4 separate regions of the Homo sapiens genome follow, and regions 2, 3 and 4 are each linked to region 1. Evidence: promoter capture Hi-C in 16 types of primary human blood cells and fetal thymus (Javierre and others, 2016). All regions are on one chromosome and are shown on one strand. Each heading gives the region's core, a stretch centred on a gene start or on the middle of the fragment in contact. The rest is flanking DNA. Distances are from core to core; before and after follow the strand shown. Region 1 holds the start of ARID4B (AT-rich interaction domain 4B). Region 2 overlaps TARBP1 (tRNA guanosine 2 -O-methyltransferase TARBP1). Region 3 overlaps TARBP1 (tRNA guanosine 2 -O-methyltransferase TARBP1). Region 4 has its middle 3.1 kb from the start of TARBP1.

Evidence for each region. Contacts are between HindIII fragments. The CHiCAGO score rates a contact against its expected background, and 5 or more counts as called.
Region 2: a contact is called between a fragment that was not itself captured here and the fragment with the promoter of ARID4B in region 1, in 1 of 17 cell types (activated CD4 T cells). The highest score is 5.5, in activated CD4 T cells.
Region 3: a contact is called between a fragment that was not itself captured here and the fragment with the promoter of ARID4B in region 1, in 2 of 17 cell types (non-activated CD4 T cells and activated CD4 T cells). The highest score is 7.2, in non-activated CD4 T cells.
Region 4: a contact is called between a fragment that was not itself captured here and the fragment with the promoter of ARID4B in region 1, in 5 of 17 cell types (naive CD8 T cells, total CD4 T cells, total CD8 T cells and 2 more). The highest score is 7.7, in naive CD8 T cells.

Annotation. Positions count from the first base shown.
Region 1 is chr1:235,326,860-235,329,535 of GRCh38, reverse strand. It overlaps ARID4B (AT-rich interaction domain 4B), which reads left to right and starts at 1,357. Exons shown (of 24, transcript NM_016374.6): 1 at 1,357-1,767; 2 at 2,568-2,622. The coding sequence starts at 2,617. It overlaps GGPS1 (geranylgeranyl diphosphate synthase 1), which reads right to left and starts at 966. Exons shown (of 4, transcript NM_004837.4): 1 at 758-966. RefSeq lists enhancers at 167-316, 817-906, 1,147-1,206, 1,943-2,468, 2,487-2,676 and silencers at 1,687-1,736, 1,907-2,136, 2,147-2,236. The HindIII fragment of the contact is 9,318 bases long and covers 1-2,676 here.
Region 2 is chr1:234,408,842-234,411,517 of GRCh38, reverse strand. It overlaps TARBP1 (tRNA guanosine 2 -O-methyltransferase TARBP1), which reads left to right. Exons shown (of 30, transcript NM_005646.4): 23 at 987-1,073. Among named protein-coding and RNA genes, the nearest start is that of COA6-AS1, 37 kb to the right of the region's middle. The HindIII fragment of the contact is 851 bases long and covers 951-1,801 here.
Region 3 is chr1:234,464,682-234,467,357 of GRCh38, reverse strand. It overlaps TARBP1 (tRNA guanosine 2 -O-methyltransferase TARBP1), which reads left to right. Exons shown (of 30, transcript NM_005646.4): 5 at 1,650-1,702. Among named protein-coding and RNA genes, the nearest start is that of TARBP1, 13 kb to the left of the region's middle. The HindIII fragment of the contact is 260 bases long and covers 1,223-1,482 here.
Region 4 is chr1:234,480,937-234,483,612 of GRCh38, reverse strand. No RefSeq gene overlaps it. Among named protein-coding and RNA genes, the nearest start is that of TARBP1, 3.1 kb to the right of the region's middle. The HindIII fragment of the contact is 2,467 bases long and covers 147-2,613 here.

The sequences.
Region 1 (2,676 bases), core at 108-2,607:
GCCCTTCAGCTCTCAGCTCGATCCTCACTTGCTCAGAAACCCTTCCTTTCCCTCCCTAAAGAAGCCAAATTCCCTCATTCTCCTATCACCGTGGAACTCTCCTCTGGGGCACTGCCACTGCGGTAATTTCACATCGTTTTGTTCAGCATCTGTCCGTCTCACCAGGCGCAGGTCTACGAAGGCAGAGGCCACCCCAGTGGTCGGCGCTCAACACCCATGAAGAAATGAAAGCGCCTTCTAACGCGTTAGACGATGAAACCAGGGCACACAACCTTGCGTCTAAGAAGTGAACATCCCATGCAAAAGACTTTTCAAAGGGAAGGGCCTGGTTTGAGAATGGCCAGAGACATACAAATGTGAAGCGCATACTGAATCCTTCCATTCATACTCCGGGAGAAAGACGATGGATCTGAAAGAAGCCGCCTGATATAAACAGGGAATTTCAATCACTTCGAGGCCGATTTTCCACAGCGGCTGGGCAGAGAACTGCAAACGTATACAGTGCTAGCACAGAGTCCGGAGGGGAAGAAACGGTGAGGTTTCTGCTTCCTCCTCGCTCAGATGCTCCCTTCCGCCCCACTTGGCCAACCCTTCCTCTCCCTCCTCGCTTAAAGCTAGGGGATGGAAAATTCATACACAATCCGGTTCAGCATCCGGGTCCTCACTCTCCTTTCTTTCTTTCCTCTGCCCCGCCTCCCAGCCTCCCCCGCCCTTCTTCCCATCCGGGTTCCCCCCAGCCGCCGCCACTGCCGCTCACAGTTCAACGATGATATCACGACTTTCACGCCGCCGGTCCGGGAGTAACTGTACCCCGCATCAACTTCCTATTTTATAATGTGGACTTAGGCTCTTCCCGATGCCTACATGAATCCTTCCCACTATTTCACCACAGAACTCTCCGCCCTCCTCAGCCGCCAGCGACACCGCATTAGTTGGTGCAAGAAAATGCGCCATCCCGGTCACACTGCGCAGGCGTCGTTGCCGCCTCCCTACTGCTTTGTTGCCCCGCCCCTTTCACCTCCCCCCCGCCCCCGCACCGGTCCACGCAGGCGCAGGGCATTGCGGGCCTTGCAGTTCTCGCGGACGAGGATTTGCGCGTTGGCCCCAGAGTATGGACTTTATTTCCCAGAAAGCCTTGAGGCGTAACTTTCTGTTTCCATAGAACTGGTGGGAAAATGGCGTCGTTGTTTGTATCCAGGGACCAATAGGAACAGTGTATAGGCGGGTTCTAAAGAACTTTAACCAATCCAAGGTCGTCTAAGAGGCCATCCGGGAAAGAGGTAGGGGAGGGGGGGAAAAAAAATCTAGGGGAGGGGAGAAAGGGGGGGAACCTAGAGTCGGTGGGGGGGAAGCGATGTTTGCCCGTCAGTCGAGTCCGGAGTGAGGAGCTCGGTCGCCGAAGCGGAGGGAGACTCTTGAGCTTCATCTTGCCGCCGCCACGGCCACCGCCTGGACCTTTGCCCGGAGGGAGCTGCAGAGGGTCCATCGCCGCCGTCCTCTGGAGGGCAGCGCGATTGGGGGCCCGGACCTCCAGTCCGGGGGGGATTTTTCGTCGTCCCCCTCCCCCCAACCAGGGAGCCCGAGCGGCCGCCAAACAAAGGTACCAGTCGCCGCCGCGGGAGGAGGAGGAGCCGGAGCCTCTGCCTCAGCAGCCGCTGGACCCGCCGCCCTTCTTCCCCATCTCTCCCCCGGGCCTGCTGGTTTTGGGGGGGAGAAGGAGAGAGGGGACTCTGGACGTGCCAGGGTCAGATCTCGCCTCCGAGGAAGGTAGGGATATTTTCTGGGGCTTTCGTGGTCTCCTAAGGGGGTTCTTTTGGGAGTCGCTGGGCCCGGCCAAGGAGCAGAGGAAGATCGCGGTGGTGGTCCCTGCGGCGCCCGAATTCGGGGCCTCGGCCTCCCGGGAACCCCCACCCCCCGCAGCCGCTGTGTCCGAGCCGCCCCCTGGCTGGGCGGCCGCACACTCAGCGGTTTAGCGGCCGCGGTCGGGGGCCCGGGCAGGGTGGGGGCCGTTCCGCCTCCGGGGCCCTCGGCCCTCACGTTGTCCCCGCGGCGGGGCCAGATGTTGATCTCGCTCCCACTTGTCGGGTCTGAGCCCGGAACGGGACGTGGGCAGGGGCTCTGTGGCGGGCCGGTCCTGCCCGCGGCCCACAGGCCCTCCTGGCCCCTCGGTGGCCCCCGGCCGGCCTCTCGCTCGGACGCGGCGCGTGGGGGCGCGGATTCGCTCGGCCGGGCGCCGAGGCCCTAGGGGAGAGCGGCCGGCCCTGCGCCGGACGCCGGGCTTGTTGTGAGTTTCTTCTCTGACAGAAATGGCGTCATTGTCGTAGACGGGAAACTCCGTCGGGTCTCGACAATGGGGACGGGAAGCTGCCGAGCTGTGTAGGTGGTTGGGTTTGCGGGGATGGCGGGGCCGGAGGGAGCCCCGAGTCGGCGTGTGATGGTTCGGGGGCTGGCGCCTGGTTGCGGCTCTTTCTTCGGGGTTCGGACGTCGCTCGCTTCTTTCCCTCCGCCTCCGCCAGTGCAGAGGGGCTCCTGTGGTGTTGACTGGGTGTCTTTTGTTTCCCCTCCAGGTGCAGCTGAACCTGGTGTTTTAGAGGATACCTTGGTCCCAGAGTCATCATGAAGGTAAGATTGCCTGCGGAAAACGAATCTCTGGGGTTATCGAATTCAGGAAGTAGG
Region 2 (2,676 bases), core at 127-2,626, 920 kb after region 1:
TCACTTATCTGTTCTCTAACCTTCCTGCTCCTTCTCCAGGCCAGTCCTTCCCATCCTGAAGGCCTCACCTCTCCTGAAGTGAGCATGCCCTTGGCTCTGCCACAGATAATCAACCCTTGGTATCCATGGGGGATTGATTCCAGGCCCCCTACGGATGCCAAAACCTGAGGATGCTCAAGTCTTTTGTTTAGAATGGCATAGTAGTTGCACATAACTGATGTGTATCCTCCCATATACTTTAATAATCTTAGATTACTTATAATGTCTAGTACAATGTACATGCTATGTAAATCGCTGTTATACAGTTTTAAACTTTGTATTACTTTTTAATTGCATTATGTTTTAAAAATTTTTTGTTAAATATTTTTCATCCACGGTTGGTTGAACTCATAGATGCAGAACTCGTGCATACAGAGGGCACACTGTACTTTATTTTATGTTTTTTTTTGAGACAGGGTCTTGCTCTGTTGCCCATGCTGGAGTGCAGTGGCACGATCTCAGCTAACTGCAAACTCTGCCCTGGGTTCAGGCAATTCTTCTACCTCAGCCTCCCCAGTAGCTGGGACTACAGGTGTGCGCTACCATGCCCAGCGAATTTTTGTATTTTTTGGTAGACATGGTTTCACCATGTTGGCCAAGCTGATCTCAAACCCCTGGCCTGAAATGATCCACCCGCCTCAGCCTCCCAAAGTGTTGGGATTATAGGCGTGAGCCACTGTGCCCCGCTGTACTTAGAGTTGAGTTATTCAGTACTTTATGTGACCTGCTGATTTTTGTGTGCACTGGCATTTGGCTCTAGGAAATATTTCCTTTGCTTTCAGTCCTGTGCCTGTTGCCGCAGCCCCCTTCCCACCCAGACCCCGGGCTGTTCCAGGGAAGAGGCTGCCTCCTGTCCTGGGCCCTCATAGAGTCCAGCACGGCGCTTTCACGTGCATGTTTCACAGTAAGCTTTGAATCAATATTTGTTTATCTGATTATTTTTTCAGGGTGAAGAAAATCTTAAAACAAGCATTTGTACGTTTTTAGCAGTTTTATCACATTTAGACATTATTACTCAAAATATTCCAGAAAAGGTAAGTTTGTTTGTAAGAATTTAAACTTGACTGTAAAAAAAGAATTGTATGTATTTGTACCAATTTTTTATATGTAGAGCATTCCTGTGAATGTTTGCAATTTTTCCCTTTCCTTTCCACTGCCCTGCTAATGTGCACATGTATTAGACACAAATACCCAGTAAATGGGAATTACCCATTTACATGCATACACACTGAGGTGTGCTTGAGTACATACCAAATTTATAGACAAACTACTGGGTAAGTTTTTGTTGATACTTGTATAAAATTAATAATTATTTATAATTCTTAGGATTAGGATTACTTAGGATTCTTTAAACAGGACTTCCCTTACCTTCTTTGACTGAATGGTAGTTATTTAACAAATGCTCGTGCAAAGAAACTTATGGCCAGACTATTAAAAGCTGTTGGGTAATTGAAGGTGATATAAAATGACTGTCATCATTTGGAGTGTGCAGTACAGTTACTTCATGTTCCTCAGGTTTAGAACAATTTCCCCTGTAAGTTCTCACACAGATAGGCAGAAATCATAACTAATTTTGGTTAATCACTATGGCAGCCGTTGAAGAATTTAAGAGAACCTGCCAGTAAGATTTGGAATAAGATTCTATATTATTGCATCCACAGAAAAGAATGTACTGATATACTATAAACTCTAGGAGAAAACTTAATTGAAATAGTGTTATTAAGTGTTGAAAGTACCATAAAAATATAAGGGAAAATAAGCTTTCCTAGAATTTTTCAGTGTTCTAGTTTTTAAACAGTGATGTTTTTTATTAACCTATTTCATCCATTCAAAGACAGGCCTTTCTCCACACCACATTTTCCTCTAAAATCATGATAACACTTTTAAATTGATGGTGTCTTCCAGTGTGTATCAGCCAGATGGCAGTGTGTTACAGTTCCAGGAAAACTCGTTCACATCTTCCGTAAGATCAAGAAGGCTCTGGCATCAGATAAGATCAAATGTTGTCTTTCTGTTTTAAATATGTGCCGCAAAGAGATTTGCTTACAATCTATTGAGAAAGCTAAAACAGAGCAGACATTGTCCTGTTGCGGGGTAGATGAATAGCCTAAGAATAGTTTAGACAAATTCTGAAAACGAATTTACCTTAGAAGATGTTCATGTTAGATCTGGTAAAAGTAACATGTTATTTTTCTGTCAAGCCCTTTTTGTACTTGCCGTTTATTACATATTTTAGATTTATTTTTTATTTTCGAAACATCCAAAAAGGAATGCTAATTAGTGAAATGGAAGAATTTCCATTTCAACACCTTAGGAAAAAAAAAACTGACTTGACATACCTAAGAAAAGGCCAAGTTGATTTACTTTGTCAGTCTCTTCATTTGTGATACGTAAAGTCCGTTGTTACCTAGATAAATGTAGGTTTGATTTCTTGGAAGCAATCACTTAAGACTTTCCATTTTCTTCAAAGCATCTTACTTAACCTGCATGTGGGATCTGTACTGAGCAATTAGAGATTCAAAACAACTGTCACACACGACAGAGGTGGTAACCGCCCAACAGGTTCACCTCTTCCGCCGCCTACACAGAGCCGATTTATCAAGACAGGAATTGCAATAGAGGAAGAGTACACAGAGC
Region 3 (2,676 bases), core at 103-2,602, 860 kb after region 1:
AAAAGCTTATGTTGTTTCTCAACAAGCCCAACGGTAGAACTGCCTGTATTATTACCATTGTGAAAAAGTAGTTGTATATTATCGATATTCAGAACAGCGTTAAGTCAAGAATCGTAAGCATAAGTCAAGTTTTCACTATATGAAAACTGGTATAGAAGCTATCAGGTGATGCTGTTGTCACCGTTCTGAGCCACTGATGACTGTTATTTGTTTAGTGATGCTACTGCCTCAATTCTGACTCAATGAATTGCTGTTGTCTACTATATGAAATAGGGATTGCCTTCTAAGCAATATTTATTAGAATCTGTACTTCCATTTGTCAGGAACTACGTGAGGCAGAGACAGTGGGAGTTATAGCTGTGATTTTAAGTTTTATATTATGGTGTCATGTGAGTCCCATGATGACTTCCTTAGGTAGAGTAATCTACCTCTCATTTAGAGGTGACCTAAGTCAATTTTTTTCTTCTTTTTCTTTCAATAGCTGTTTTTTTTTCGAGATGGTGTCTCATGCCTGTCACCCAGGCTGGAGTGCAGTGGCATGATCTCGGCTCAGTGCAACCTCCGCTTCCCAGGTTCAAGTGATCCCCCTGCCTCAGCCTCCTGAGTAGCTGGGATTACAGGTGGGTGCCACCACACCTGGCTAATTTTTGTATTTTTAGTGGAGATGGGGTTCCACCATCTTGGCTGGGCTGGTCTCGAACTCCTGGCCTCAAGTGATCCACCTGCCTTGGCCTCCCAAAGTGCTGGGATTACAGGTGTGAACCACTGTGCCTGGCTTCTTCTTCTTCTTTTTTAAAAGAATGATTGAATATATTTCTCAGATAGTGATATAATTTTTTTGTTTTTGAGACAGAGTCTCACTCTGTTGCCGAGGCTGGAGTGCAGTATCGTGATCTCAGCTCACTGCAACCTCTGCCTCCCAGATTTAAGGGATTCTTATGCCTCAGCCTCCCAAGTAGCTGGGACTACAGGTGCACGCCACCATGCCTGGCTCAGTTTTGTAATTTTAGTAGAGACAGGGTTTTGCCATGTTGGCCAGGCTGGTCTCAAAATCCTGGCCTCAAGGGATCTGCCCACCTCAGCCTCCCAAAGTGCTGGGATTATAGGTGGGAGCCACTGCACCAGCCTAAGTCAGTTTTTTCTAATTATTTTAATATATGCTGTGGTATATTGATATGCATCATGTTTCTACATTCTATTATTTCTGCACTTCATGTAAGCTTGCTTTTCTGACCAGTATCTAATAGTAATTTTTGAGTATAATTTTTTTCCTCTTTATCCTCTAGGCATAGGGGCTTAAATTTTCTCTTGAGTATCTTTTTGGTTTTCCTGTCATTACCTTTATTTTCTAGCATATGTTTCTTCTTTGGCTTCCTTCCTTCTTTCTTGACCCAACACATGAACTCTCTTTTTAGTATGGCATAAATTTTAATCAGGTGGGAAAATTCTGTACTTACTTTGTTTTTCTGGTAGAATTAAGCTTCCCCTCCAGGACCAGCACTAAATTTAGCCTGCAGCGTAAGAGATCAGCTTTGCTTATAGCAGGTCTTCTGTAAGCCTGTGTAGGATGTTCAATCAGGGAAACTGACTTCAAAATTGTATTTACAACTAAGTTTCAATTACGTGTCTTTTTTTTTTTTTTTTTTTAGTTTATTATTGGACCATTAATGGATGCGCTTTCAGAGAGCTCTCTGTATAGCAGGTAAAGAGACATTATGTTATGAAGTATTTGATACATACATTTCATGTTAAGAGACATGACCAGATTGTTTCATGCATTTGGCACATACAGTATGTTGCTGAATAGACAGTTGAGTTTTTCTTATCATGTGGTCCTTTTTCTATCTGTTATTCTTCTTGCATTCTGATTTGCATCAAGTGTTTCTCCTTTGTTTTTTCTTGTTTCCTTTTTCTGCCTTGAGCTGCTCTATTCTTGGGCTGTTGGAAACTATGTCTTCTACAGCACACTTTCTTCTCCCTACTGCTGCTTCCTGCTCTCTTGGAAGTTGTAATGATTTTGACTAACCAACACTTTAAACTTATTTTCCTTTTTCTTTTAACTTAGTTTTACACTTACAGAAAAGTCTTGAGAATAATCCAAAGAATTCTCATTTCCCTTTCACCCATATTCCCTGAATGTTAAGGTTTTACTGCATTTGCTTGATCGTTGCCTCTCCCTGTGTGCGCATCTTTCTTAGCTTTGTCTACTGACCAGACTTACTCATTTATATCTGTTTGAGTGCCTGTCTGTCCGCCATCCATCCATCCATCCATCCATCCATCCATCCGTTCATCCATCCATCCATATTAAGAACCGTGAATTCACACCAGGACGTCCAGTTTTAGTTCAGTACTGCAAGGTTCATTCTAACCTTTTCCTTTCCGTATCTGACAGTGGCTGCTGTTATTCATCCTGTCTCTACTTATAGGCCACAGTTAAAGTTTTGAAAAGGTTGACAGTGAGAAGTTTGTCAGGATTGTACCTTAGCCTCATTTTTTTGAGCATCATTTATGACTCTTGAATTCTGTCTTCAAAAATTTCCCTTGCTCTTGAAATTGTGTTATCTTTCTAATATTAACTAAATTTATAGTTGTGTCTTGCTGTTCAGTATGCCCTCTAAACAGAACTACCTCCCCCCACCAGCCAATTTCTTGAAACATTTTTAATTAGTCTCT
Region 4 (2,676 bases), core at 131-2,630, 850 kb after region 1:
GGTGCCTGTAATCCCAGCTGCACTGGGGGCTGAGGCAGGAGAATCACTTGAACCCTGGAGGCAGAGGTTGCAGTGAGCTGAGATTGCGCCATTGCACTCTAGCCTGGGTGACAGGGCGAGACTCCATCTACAAAAAAAAAAAAGCTTTACTGAAGTGTGCTATGTCTGAGATGAGGTACTGGCATGAGTATAATAGCAGACAAAACCTCATACCCCATGCCTAGCCCTCAAATTGCTTAGAGAGGAGGAGTAGGGGGCAGAGAAATAACCTGCAATTGCAACACAGTGTGACCATTGCTGTGTTGGTGACATGCCAGGATGTTTGGGGAATTTGAAAGAGGGTCACCTAATTTAACTGGGGTGTTAGCAGCAGGAGAAAGGTATTAAGAAATGACTTTCTGGAGAGATAACATTTGAACTTTGTCTTGAAAGAAAAAAAAAGTCAGGTGGAGAAGGGGTAAGTGCTTTCCAAAAGAGAGAAGGGCTTTTTTTGAAAAAACACAAAGAAAAGTGAGAGCACACATGTTTTAGGGACTTCAAAATTAAGGTGTAAATGGGGCTTGTCAGGAGTGTGAAGATGGAGAATTAGGCAGGCATTCCATCTTGAGGCATCTTGGATGATATGCTAAGAAACTCAACCATGATTCTGAGGGCTCTGGGTAGCCAATGATGTAATTTTAGGAAGATCATCCTAGTACCAATACGGAGTATGTATTACACGACCAGGGGCACTAGGAATGGCTTCTTAGAGAGATGCCTTGAAATTTGGGTCTTCATAAAGGAGTAGGAGATGGCTATTCACTCGATAAGCGTTACTTAAATGTGATATAGCTGGGAGTGGGGTAGGTGGTGATTGCTATTATCTTGGCAAGAAATGAGGAGGGTCTAAAACTAAGTAAGGTATTAGTGGGGCACAGAGAGGAGGGATCACCGAGAGATTTAGAAAGTTGCATGGAAACTTTGAGGAGTGATTGCATGTGAGAATCAAGTAGGAAGTGTATTGGTTCCCAGGTTTTTGACTTGGGCAACTTGGGAATGATGGCCATTTCCCTAAACAGGGAATTCCTGGGAAGAAGAACATCGGTGGGGAGTAATGATGCTGGGTGAAGGGATGAAGGGAATGAAGTTAGATTTGTAAAAGTGGAGACTGAGAATGATGTCCTGAATAATATTCAAATGAAGACGTGTGGTAGGCAGTTGGAGAAATAGGTTTCGAGCTATCTCCTAAGGATAAGTCTCAGGAGAGAGACCTAGGCTGGAGATACAGACTTTTTCATCATTAGCATGTAAATGGTAATCAGATCTATAGTGTTAATGAAGTTATTCAGAGAAAATTTACAGAGTGAGGAGAAGAGAGACCTGAAGATAAAACCCTGGAAATATCACTATGGACAGGTCAGGAGGAAAAATAAGATGCTGAAAGAAAGGGAGAAGAAACAGCTGAGGAAGCAGAGAAAAGAAAGAACAGGACAAAGTCATCGATGAAAACCAGAGTGAGATAGTGTTTCAAGAAATAGGAAATACTCCACAGAGTCCATTCAGGTAAGAACGAAAAAGGGCAGCTCTGGCAATTAGGAATCGCTGCCCACATTGGTGAATCAGAAAAGTGGTGTTGCGGGAAATATTCCGGGAGAGAAGACAGTGCAAACATGTTGTGGGTAAGAAGGAGAGTTCCACATGCCTGACCTGGGGCAGAGAAGGGGGAGTCAGGCTGTGAGGCCAGCTGGCTTTTCCCCAATCCCAATAAGCCTTCAATGCTGTGCTCTGCAGTTAGGCTTTACTCTGAAGGCAACAGAGAATAAAACACATAGGCCAACTTGTTTTTTTGTTTTGTTTTGTTTTGTTTTGTTTTTTGGTATAAGTCATTTTTCAAGATTGAGGTAAACTTTCTTTTTTTTTTTTTTGAGACCAAGTCTCACTCTGTCTCCAGGCTGGAGTGCAGTGGTGTGATCTTGGCTCACTGCAACCTCTGCCTCCTGGGTTCAAGCAATTCTCCTGCCTCAGCCTCCCGAGTAGCTGGGATTACAGGCGTGCACCACCATGCCCAGCTAATTTTTTTGTATTTCAGTAGAGATGGGGTTTCACCATGTTGGCCAGGATGGTCTCAATCTCCTGACCTCATGATCCACCGGCCTCGGCCTCCCAAAGTGCTGGGATTACAGGTGTGAGCCACTGCGCCCGGCTGATTGAGGTAAACTTTCTGCAGAGCGAAATGCATAGATCTTAAGGGTTCAGTTCAAGGAGTCTTGACAAATGTGTAACAACACCCTGATCAACATAAAATATTTTCATCACCCCAGAAAGTTCCCTTGTGCCCAATTCTAGTCAAATCTCTACTCCCTATATGCAACTACTGTTCTCATTTCTATCCTTCAGATTACTTTTGTCTCTTCTTGGATTTCATATAAATGAAATCACGAGGATGTAAACGTTGTGACTGGCTTCCTTTGTTTAACATATTGTTTCTGAGACTTATCCATGTAAAGCGGATTAGCAATTCATTGTCTTATTGCTGGGAGCATTATTATATAGATAGATCACAATTTTTTATTCATTCTTCAATTTGATGCACATGTAGGTTGTTACCTAACACCTACTAGGTTGTTATAAGCTTTTGGCTATAACGAATAATGTTGTCAAAAACATTCTTCTGCAAGCTTTTTTTTTTGAAACATG